Linked DNA regions of Homo sapiens: regions 1 and 2 are each linked to region 3. Evidence: promoter capture Hi-C in 16 types of primary human blood cells and fetal thymus (Javierre and others, 2016). All regions are on one chromosome and are shown on one strand. Each heading gives the region's core, a stretch centred on a gene start or on the middle of the fragment in contact. The rest is flanking DNA. Distances are from core to core; before and after follow the strand shown. Region 1 overlaps DGKQ (diacylglycerol kinase theta). Region 2 has its middle 65 kb from the start of ZNF732. Region 3 holds the start of MYL5 (myosin light chain 5).

What was found. Contacts are between HindIII fragments. The CHiCAGO score rates a contact against its expected background, and 5 or more counts as called.
Region 1: a contact is called between a fragment that was not itself captured here and the fragment with the promoter of MYL5 in region 3, in 2 of 17 cell types (neutrophils and fetal thymus). The highest score is 6.0, in neutrophils.
Region 2: a contact is called between a fragment that was not itself captured here and the fragment with the promoter of MYL5 in region 3, in 1 of 17 cell types (M1 macrophages). The highest score is 7.2, in M1 macrophages.

The regions. Positions count from the first base shown.
Region 1 is chr4:969,990-972,692 of GRCh38, reverse strand. DGKQ (diacylglycerol kinase theta) reads left to right here. Exons shown (of 23, transcript NM_001347.4): 2 at 1,621-1,700. Among named protein-coding and RNA genes, the nearest start is that of DGKQ, 2.2 kb to the left of the region's middle. RefSeq lists enhancers at 1-620, 2,457-2,703. The HindIII fragment of the contact is 1,429 bases long and covers 739-2,167 here.
Region 2 is chr4:238,595-242,073 of GRCh38, reverse strand. It overlaps the pseudogene ZNF876P. Among named protein-coding and RNA genes, the nearest start is that of ZNF732, 65 kb to the left of the region's middle. The HindIII fragment of the contact is 4,026 bases long and covers 1-3,479 here.
Region 3 is chr4:673,221-676,772 of GRCh38, reverse strand. It overlaps MYL5 (myosin light chain 5), which reads right to left and starts at 2,231. Exons shown (of 9, transcript NM_002477.2): 1 at 2,090-2,231; 2 at 564-700. It overlaps ATP5ME (ATP synthase membrane subunit e), which reads left to right and starts at 2,497. Exons shown (of 4, transcript NM_007100.4): 1 at 2,497-2,561; 2 at 2,807-2,861; 3 at 3,372-3,470. The coding sequence starts at 2,526. RefSeq lists enhancers at 1,661-1,730, 1,608-2,365 and a silencer at 1,941-2,210. The HindIII fragment of the contact is 4,723 bases long and covers 1-3,552 here.

The DNA of each region.
Region 1 (2,703 bases), core at 204-2,703, 300 kb before region 3:
GCTGGCTCTCATCTTCCCCCGCGGCAAGCAGGCGGGCCCCGGGGACTACAGCCCAGCCTCTGGAGGGAGCGAGGGACAGGGGGACCACAGCCCAGCCTCTGGAGGGAGCGAGGGACAGGGGGACCACAGCCCAGCCTCTGGAGGGAGCGAGGGACAGGACCGGAGTTCTGGACGTTTGACACTTACTGTGTCCTGGCCAGGGACGCTGAGGTGGGAGGGGCTATCCTTAGCCTCAGGCCTTTCTCTGGGGATAGGGGTCCACTCAGGTCAGGGTCCGCAGAGGAGACTGTCCCCTCACACGGGGATGTCGTCTGTGGTGGAAACGGCATGGTTGTTCTGACCCCCAGGGCTGCACAAGGTGGCCTGGCCCGCCAGCTTCTTTGTCACGTCAGAGCATGGCACAGCCATGCCTGCTGCCTGGGGATGCCAGGGGCTTCCCCAGAGGTGGGGAGTGTGCATGTGTGGCTGAGGCAGCTCCCGACTTGAGGCCAGACTCCGGGTCCCCTCCCCCTTCGGAGGGGGCAAAAGGGCCCTCCTGGGCAGCACCCGTGGAAGAGGGGCCAGCAGCGGTATGGGAAGGAGGGCACCCTCCCCGCCAGGAGACCCAAGCGTGGGGCGTGGGGTGAGCAGGCCCTGTCTCCATGGCAGAGGAGGGACCTGGGTGCTGCCTGTCCCCCCTTCTCTCGGTGGACCCTGGCCTGCTTCCAGAGCTTTTCTCTTAAGCTGCCAGGAGAAGCTTCTCCCGGTCCCATCTGGAGACTGGGGTGGCTAGGGCTGCAGCAGGTGAAGGGCGGCACCAGCGGGGCCTTCTGGAAGAGCTCCCTGTCCCAGCTGGACTGCCTGGGGCTCCGTGGCACAACCTTCACCCGGGGCTGTCTTGGCAGTTGTGTCACTGGGTGCCCTGCCCACTCCCAGCCCCCGCAGCCTTTGCCCCAGCCCAGGGTTCCTGCCCTCCCTTCTGCCCCGGCCCCACCCTCCTGTCTGTTTTACTGCTGGGGTGTGGCGCTTGCTCCTCTTATGCCCTCCTGAGCACCCCGCCGGCTCAGGTGCTCCCTGGGTCCTATGCACACAGCCAGAGCTCCTTGGGAGGCTTGGGGCTGTCCACTCCCCAGCGGCTCCTGCCTCCCAGAGCCCTCACCTGCCTTGGGTGGCTCTCGGTCTCAGGCACGGTGCACAGCACGTAGCAGGGACAATTAGGGGTATGCGTAGTTTCGGGGGAGTGAGACACAGATGTCCTTGGTAAAGCCAATCTGCCGAAGGCCGAGAAGCCCCTGCCACCTGGCGAACCTGGTGAGCCCAGGGCTGCCCCTTGAGAGGCCCAACTGCAGAGGCAGGAGGAGTGCTGGGCCTACGTGCGAAGGGGAGGGACTGCTCTCTGGATGAGAGGATACACTCATTGTCCTCCAGGATGGTCAGGACCACCCAGGTTCTTGCTCCTGGGCTCCTGGGCTGCAGGCTCTCTCCAATGAGTGGGCAGGGTGGTGGGGGAACTCGAGGACCACAGGGCCCCTGGTGCAGCATGGTGGGTATGGCAGTCATTGCCCTGGGGCCTCTAACTTCCTGGGTAGGACAGCCATTGGGTAGGACAGGGGCCAACTCACACAGTGCTCATTCCCACAGTCTGCAATTTCATGTCTCATGAGAAGTGCCTGAAGCACGTGAGGATCCCGTGCACGAGTGTGGCACCCAGCCTGGTCCGGGTGAGTGTGGGGCTGGGTGTTGCACCTGCAAGAGGCTGGGGGATGTGTCAGCTCTCGTAGGGTCGAGGCACTGAAAACCTTCATGTCAGACGTTAGTGATACCTGCAGTTGAAAGGCAAAGGGCAGATACTGCTCGGGATTAAAAGGCTGAGCACCCTGCATGGATCTGCAGGGAATGATGGTGATAAAAGCCAGTCCCCGAGGTCGCAAATAGCAAGATCCTGTCCATAGAATGTGCTCAAAATGACGAAACTAAAGGGAGCACAGATGTAGAGAGGTTTCCAGGCGGAGAAGTGGGCGTGGCTGTGACATGCAGCGTGAGGGCTCCTGGGGGGGATGGAGATTTCGGCATCTGGCGTGACCTCAGTTTGCAAGATCACACACTTAGGGGAGCTGACAAAGGCTTCAGGGGGTCTGTTCAGTTTCCTCACAGCTATGTGTGAACCCACAAGCATCTCAAGGAAGCTTGAATAAAAAGCAAAGGCAGGAAGCCTGGGTGCCTGAGGGTGTCTTGGCCACCACCCTCCCTCTAAGGGCTCTGGGTGGGGCAGGGAGGTGACTGGCCCAGGTCACTGCAGGGCACAGGGGACTTCCCTTCTCTGGTGACAGTGGTGACAGCAGGGACATGTAGGAAGGGCCAGGCTTATTCCTCCCTCAGCTGTCAGCGTCGCCGTCTTCAGACTGAGGCCCCCCAAGTCCGCATTCCCTGATGCGTTCAGGCTGCAGGTGGGGCGCAGGCCGCGAGGCAGGCCCGGGTGTGCAGCAGGACGGGAAGCCAGGCCAGCAGGCACACCTGCCACTGGCGGGCATCCGGCTGCGCCGTCCCCTCTAATGTCTGACGCCCTGTTCCTAATGATGCAGTTCCCCGGGTGTGAGCAGGAGGCCTTAGGCCGGTGGTCCTGGTGGTGGCCGACACCCTGGTGATTCCACACTGGCTTGGGCGGCCCCTCGTCATGTGGACGGCCCGAGGCTGCCGCTTTTTAAAATTGATTTTAATGTCTTC
Region 2 (3,479 bases), core at 523-3,022, 430 kb after region 3:
AACATACGGAGGACCTGCACCGGCACCAGTCTCTGAGTTTCCTCAGTGTTTGTTTATTAATTACTATTTTCACTATCTCAGCAAGGGGAATGTGGCAGGAAAACAGGGTGACAGTGGGGAGAAGGTCAGCAAGAAAACATGTGAGCAAAGGGATCTGTGTCACAAATAAGTTCAAGGGAAGGTACTATGCCTGGATGTGCACGTAGGCCAGATTTATGTTTCTCTCCACCCAAACATCTCAGTGTAGCAAAGAGTAACAGAGCAGCATTGCCACCAGCATATCTTGCCTCCAGCCACAGGGCGGTTTTCTCCTATCTCAGAATAGAATAAATGTATGATCGGGTTTTACACTGAGACATTGCGTTCCCAGGGGCATGCAGGAGACAGAGGCCTTCCTCTTATCTCAACTGCAAGAGGCCTTCCTCTTTTACTAATCGTCCTCAGCACAGACCCTTTATGGGTGTCAGGCTGGGGGATGGTCAGGTCTTTCCCTTCCCACGAGGCCATATCTCAGGCTGTCTCAGTTGGGGGAAACCTTGAACAATACCCAGGCTTTCTTGGGCAGATGTCCTTGCGGCTTACCGCAGTGCATTGTGCCCCTGGTTAATTGAGAATGGAGAATGGTGATGACTTTTACCAAGCATACTGCCTGTAAACATATTGTTAACAAGGCATGGCCTTCACAGCCCTAGATCCCTTAAACCTTGATTCCATACAGCACATGTTTCTGTGAGCACAGGGTTGGGGCTAAAGTTACAGATTAACAGCATCTCAAGGCAAAACAATTGTTCAAAAGACAGATCAAAATGGAGTTTGTTATGTTTTCCTTTTCTACATAGACACAGTAACAGTCTGATCTCTCTTTCTTTTCCCTGGCATTTTCATGTTTTTCATCACAATTAAATATTTAGATCTACCTAAAAAGGTTACAGTCTTTAAAAATCACCTTCAAGTAAGAAAAGTGTTTCTCTCACAGAATAACATAATAAAATAATAGATGGTAATTTTACACTGACTACTCACCCACACAAGAAAACAATGATGAACACCCAAGTAAATAAATACTTTATTTATTTATTTATTTTTTTGAGATGGAGTCTTGCTCTGTCACCCAGGCTGGAGTGCAGTGGTGCGATCTCGGCTCACTGCAAGCTCCACCTCCCGGGTTCACGCCATTCTCCCGCCTCAGCCTCCTGAGTAGCTGGGACTACAGGCAACCACCACCACGCCTGGCCCAATTTTGTTTTTGTATTTTTAGTAGAAATGGGGTTTCCCCATGTTAGCCAGGATGGTCTCGATCTCCTGACCTTGTGATCCGCCCGCCTCGGCCTCCGAAAGTGCTGGGATTACAGGCGTGAGCCACTGTGCCTGGCTGATAAATAATTTATAAACAACGTAGGGGCAATATATATACAGGCAAATACCACATAGATAACTTTCTTGGCAAGAGAAATGTCTGATTTATATATATGTTTTTTAATTTGCTCGAAGTGAAACCCAATGATATTTATTTGAATTAAACACCACATGGTCATAAGAGGTAGAGAGGTTGTTGTTGTTGTTGTTGTTTTGAGACATTGTTTCACACTTGTTGCCCAGGCTGGTGGGCAATGTTGCAATCTTGGCTCACTGAAACCTCCGCCTCCTGGGTTCAAGTGATTCTCCTGCCTCAGCCTCCCAAGTAGCTGGGATTACAGGCATGCGTCACTACGCCTGGCTAATTTTGTGTTTTTAGTAGAGACAGGGTTTCTCCACATTGGTCAGGCTGGTCTTGAACTCCTGGCCTTATGATCTGCCCGCCTTGAGTTCCCAAAGTGCTGGGATTACAGGCATGAGACACTGCCCCTGGCCAAGGTACAGGGTTTAAAGTTACCATACAAATATAAAGATTAAAAACAAACCACTAAAATGGGGTTGAAAACAAGAATAAAAATTTCTGACCTTTAAAATATTGAATATCATATAGATGTATCATAAAAACAATCCTTTACAGTTTTCAACTGTGACTATGTACTTATGAAGAGCTGGCATTTTGAATCTTTGGCATTCAAGGTACAGCAATAAAAGAAAATAATCTCAATAATTAATAAAATGCTCTGATGAGAATGAGGCATTTCAATACATTTACTTATTCCACAATTTGAAAATTTAAGCATTTTATTTCAGACATTTTGAATTTGAAATAAAAAATATTTGACACAGAACAATCAAAGTAAAACATACAAGGGGAGTGACATAGCAAGATGGCAGAATAGGAGGTTCTCTACCTAAATCTTATATGGTTATAAAAAAATGCAGCAGTTATGCCCTGGCAAATGAACCTTTATAGGAACTTTGGAATCCATGTCAAAAGGTGTAAACCCAAGACAGGAGGGCTGTATTGAGAGGGCATGCCCTTGCTTGAGTGGCATGCTTGCCCATCATAGTCCCAGCTACAAAATAAAATATGATTAATTCTCATTGTAAGTATAGCTGTAGGCCATTTGGTTTTGTTTATGCCACTAGCACCATCTGCCAAGACACCAAGGAGGATTCATAATGTCCTGTGTCTCAGGTGAAAGGACTTTAGATGTTGCTCCTCTCTGTAGTCTCCTAATTAGCCCCTTGCACACATCTATCATGATGTGGAAGAAATCCTGCACATGCAGGAACCGACAGAAACATCCATCTGTGCCCCTGGATGTAGGCTTGCCGATATTTATTTAATGGTGGATCTTGATGTGGCACTATCATCTGGCTCCCAGTCCATGAAACCAAAGTCCAGAAGCAGTTTTTCCTAACCTGGGACCTGCCAAAAAACACACCTATATGTGCCCCTGTAGGCATGCTGGCTGACTTTATTCCCACTGTGAATCTTGAAGCAGTCCTAAAACCCAGCTCCAGTCCCAAAACCTACCTCCAGTCCCAAAACCTACCTCCAGTCCCTGTCAACTAAAGTCTGGGAGCAGTCCTGCCCACCCAGGAATCTGGAGGGAGAAATGCCGTGAACCCAGAAACAAACCTGAAGACTTTGGTCTCAGCTGTGTATCCTGAAGCAGCCCTATGAATCAGTTCCACACCCTCTCAGCTGTGACCAAGGGTCAGTACTTCTCATCTAGGAATCTGTCCAATGACTGGGTTAGAAGATTTCTAAAAACCCAGCAAGAGCCACACAGCAGAAGCCATACCTGCTCACATGGATTATATCAGCTCTGTCATCTGCATATACAACTGGAGACTTTTTTTTCTCAGCACCAGTCTTACTGATCAAGATCCTGAAGAAAGTTCAGTCTTCCTAGAAAATAGACAGAATCCACAACAGTCTGATGCCCTAATAACAGGTCTGCCAAGCATGAACTTCACTGTGATCCAGATCCAATGCACCTTACTGCAAACTCACTGGAAATCTCATCAGCACAGAGATCCAATAGGAGAAAATATTTACCACCCCAAACTAATCTATAATGACTGCAAGAGATATTTACTCCTTCAGATGCAAG
Region 3 (3,552 bases), core at 982-3,481:
ATCCCCTGCTGCCAGTCCAGTGGGGTCTGGGTGTGATCCTGAAGGGGCACTGCTGGGCTGCAGGAGTGGGGAGAACCACACCGAGGGGGGAAGCATGGTTGGGAGGCCCCCCGAGGCCACCGGGAATGTGAGAAGGGCTGCAGAGCCCCCTGCAGAGGGTTCCCAGGCCACTGGAGTCTGAGCACAGTGCTAAAGATAGCAGCAAGCCTGAGCCGGGGGAGTATCGGCTTCTGCACCCACAGCTGACCTGACAGCTGCAGAGGCCCCTGCGGGCGGTGTGCTGAGCCAGGTGGGACCCGTCCCACCACTAAGCTCTCAGGAAAGGCCTTGAGCAAAGGCAAGTCTCCATTGGCTTCAGGGGGTTTTCCCCAGGCCGTGTGTGTTTGCCCGCATGTTTTCTCTGCTGGTGCCCTGCCCCGCCCCACCTCTGGTGGAAGCTGCTGGTATGTCCCCCTCACCCCCTACCTTGGGCCCCAGAGACACTTATTTTTGATTCTGGAAGCAGGAGTTGCTGAGGAGTCTGGATTATTTTAAACTCCAGTGAAGGGAAAACCCATTGTCACCTGAGGCCGTCTGCCCTGGCGGAAGCGGGGGCTTGCCGAGGGCCAAGATGGTTCTGTGCCTTGTGGATCCAGTGTGCACCTGCGGCTTCCTCAGCGAGCAGTAGACACGGGGAGGGCTGGAGTTTGCTTCTGGCCCCCTGAGGACAGGGTTCAGGCAGAGGCCTCAGGCAGGAGTCTTCAGGGACTGCCAGCCAACCTCACAGAAGCTGGAGAAAAGATCAGGTGGCCCTACAGCAAGTACCTAACCTTTTTGGCGCCTGGGACAGGTTTCACGGAGGACAGTTTTTCCGTGTTGGGGAGGAAGGTTTCGGGATGAAACTATTCCACCTCAGTTCATCAGGCATTAGATTCTCACCAGAGCGCAATCCAGATCCAAGTGCGCAGCTCACAGTAGGGTTCACGCTCCTATGGGAATCTGATGCCCAGGCTGATCTGAAAGTGGGTGGAGCTCGGGCAATCATGCTCCCTCACCTCGTCCTGTGCTGCCCGGTTCCTAACGGGCCACAAGCTGGTACTGGTCTGCACCTGGGGGTTGGGGACCCCTGCCCTATAGGACTGGCCTTGGTATACCCAGCTCAGGAAACAGAGCCCAGTGACTTCCTAGTTTCTCAGCCAGAGAGGCCCAGGCCCTGGACCCCAGAGCAAGCCAGGAGAGGGGGCAGAGGCGACTTAGGCCCGGACAGGTAGCCCAGGCCGCCAGGATCACGGGTCCTCCCCATGCTTGCTTCAAGAGTCCTGGAGTTTGTGATGCTGCACCTTAGCGAGACCCGAGCCATAGTTCTCCAGTTGCTTCTGCCTGTAGCAGTGCAGGGCCAGGAGGGGACACAGGAGGCCTTGCGTCACTACTGCATGGGGCCAAAGGGGGCCCGAGGGTGGCCCAGCACGGGCAGCATGGCTGCCGCCAGGAAGACCCAGAACGTGGAGGGGGTGCCAGGCTCCTGCCTAGACTCCAAGCCTGGTGTCCATGGGGCTGGCGGGTCAGCACTTCGGGCACAGCGGGGAGGCTGCATAGGCACCGCAGGCCCCATCTCTGGGCAGCTGTGGGAGACACACAGCTACCGGGAGGTGGACAGAGGCCAGCAAAGACCAGTGTGGGGCTCAGTGGTCCCCAGGCCTGGGCCGGGGCAGGCCCTTGGAGCCGTGGAGTCCTGAGGCCTGGAGTCGGGGGACCCAGGGAGCAGCCTCTGTTGGGGGCTGGTCTTCCCAAGAAGATCCCAGCCCCTCTTCGGGACAGAAGTGATGGGGCATCCTGGGGTGAGGAAGCTCCAGCTCCGGGATGAAGGGCGCCCCGTGCTCCCGGGCAGAGCAGCCGCAGGAAGAGGGGCCTGGAGGCCATGCTCCCGCGGGCCGCGGAATCCAACGCGGCCCGGCCGGCGACAGACACTACTGCCTTGTAGGAGAAGGACCTGCCCGGGGAGCCACCTGCACTCGGCTCACACTCCGCTCCCAGGACCCCCAGGTCCCTGCCCAGGCCACCCTCGGGTGGGCGCGGTCCGCGGGGCTGGACCCGCCCGAGCCGCCCTGACCTCAGGCCTCCGACGCTCCGCGCAAGAAGACAGAGTGCGCCCCGGCCCGCAGTCTGGGGTGTGGACACACGGCCAGGACGCGGACGGCGGGGCCTCGGCAGCAGCGCGGGGAAACAGCGGACCCCCAGCCCTGCGGGGAAAGGAAACCCCCCGCCCACTCGGCGCAGATCCCGCCTCACGCAGCAACTGCGCAGGCGCAGCCGATGATCCTCCGCGCACTCCCCAGCCTTTGTGCGCGTGCGCCTCACGTGACGTCACCGCCGCGCGGGGGCGCGCAGTCACCCTTCGGTCGCCAGGGGGCGCGGCCCCCCGCTCTCTCGCCGCTGACGGCGCATGCGTGCGCCCAGCTCCGCCTTTGCCTCCAAGGCTTTGCTGGCTTGTGCGGCATCCTGCTCCGTCTGCAGGTTGTGCTTCCGGTGCGGAGGTCAGGGACAAGATGGTGCCACCGGTGCAGGTCTCTCCGCTCATCAAGGTGATCCAGGCTTTGCAGCCGCCGCCCAGTGCTCTGGGCCCCCCCGTGTCCCGCCCCGCAGCTCCGACCCCGCGGGCTGCGACCCCCGGCCCCCGCCCCCATGATCCTCGCCCCGTGACCCTCGCCCGGCGACCGGACCCCCACCCCTCCTGCGACCTCTGCCCAGCGACCCCGCCCCCCCTCCTCCCGCGACCCCCGTCCCGCGAGCCCCGTTTCGCGCCGCCTCTGACCAACCTCTTTCGCAGCTCGGCCGCTACTCCGCCCTGTTCCTCGGTGTGGCCTACGGAGCCACGCGCTACAGTGAGTGACCGCGGGCGGGGCCGGGGCGGGGTCTGCTCGGCTTTCCTGTGGAGCTCCTGTGCTATTTGGAGAACTCCAGCTCTGGAAGGGGGCTTGGGACGCATGCGAGGCTGCAGGACCGTGTCCTCCACCGAGCGTGACCCCGATAGTGGAATCAGCTCACCCAAAGCTCAGGCTTCTGAGGCCCGGGCGGGGGACTCGAAAACGGCTGCTTCTTGGTGAAAACGGGTGCTAAATGGCTGTTCGAGTGCTGAGGTCTTGATGGGAGGCAGTCCCTGTTCGCAGAGGACGAGTGAGCCAGTGCGTGAGCGGGTGGGCAGCAGGGGCCCTGTAGCCTCTGGGTTGGACTCGTCAGGGTGAAGGTCAGGCGTTGACTCGCATTAACATAAAGAGCGGGAACAGCAGGTGCGTCTGGTTTACAGCGTCGCTGAAGATACCTTGACCTGTGGACTCAGTTCCTTTTGTACAGCATTTCCAGTGAATTTTATTCTCCTGCATTCCGCCAAACAGATTACCTAAAACCTCGGGCAGAAGAGGAGAGGAGGATAGCAGCAGAAGAGAAGAAGAAGCAGGATGAACTGAAACGGATTGCCAGAGAATTGGCAGAAGGTACGAGTGACACTGGCTCTTATAGATTGTCCCTCCCAGGTTTGTGCAGGGATAAGGAAAATGGAGGAGGACATTTAAGCAG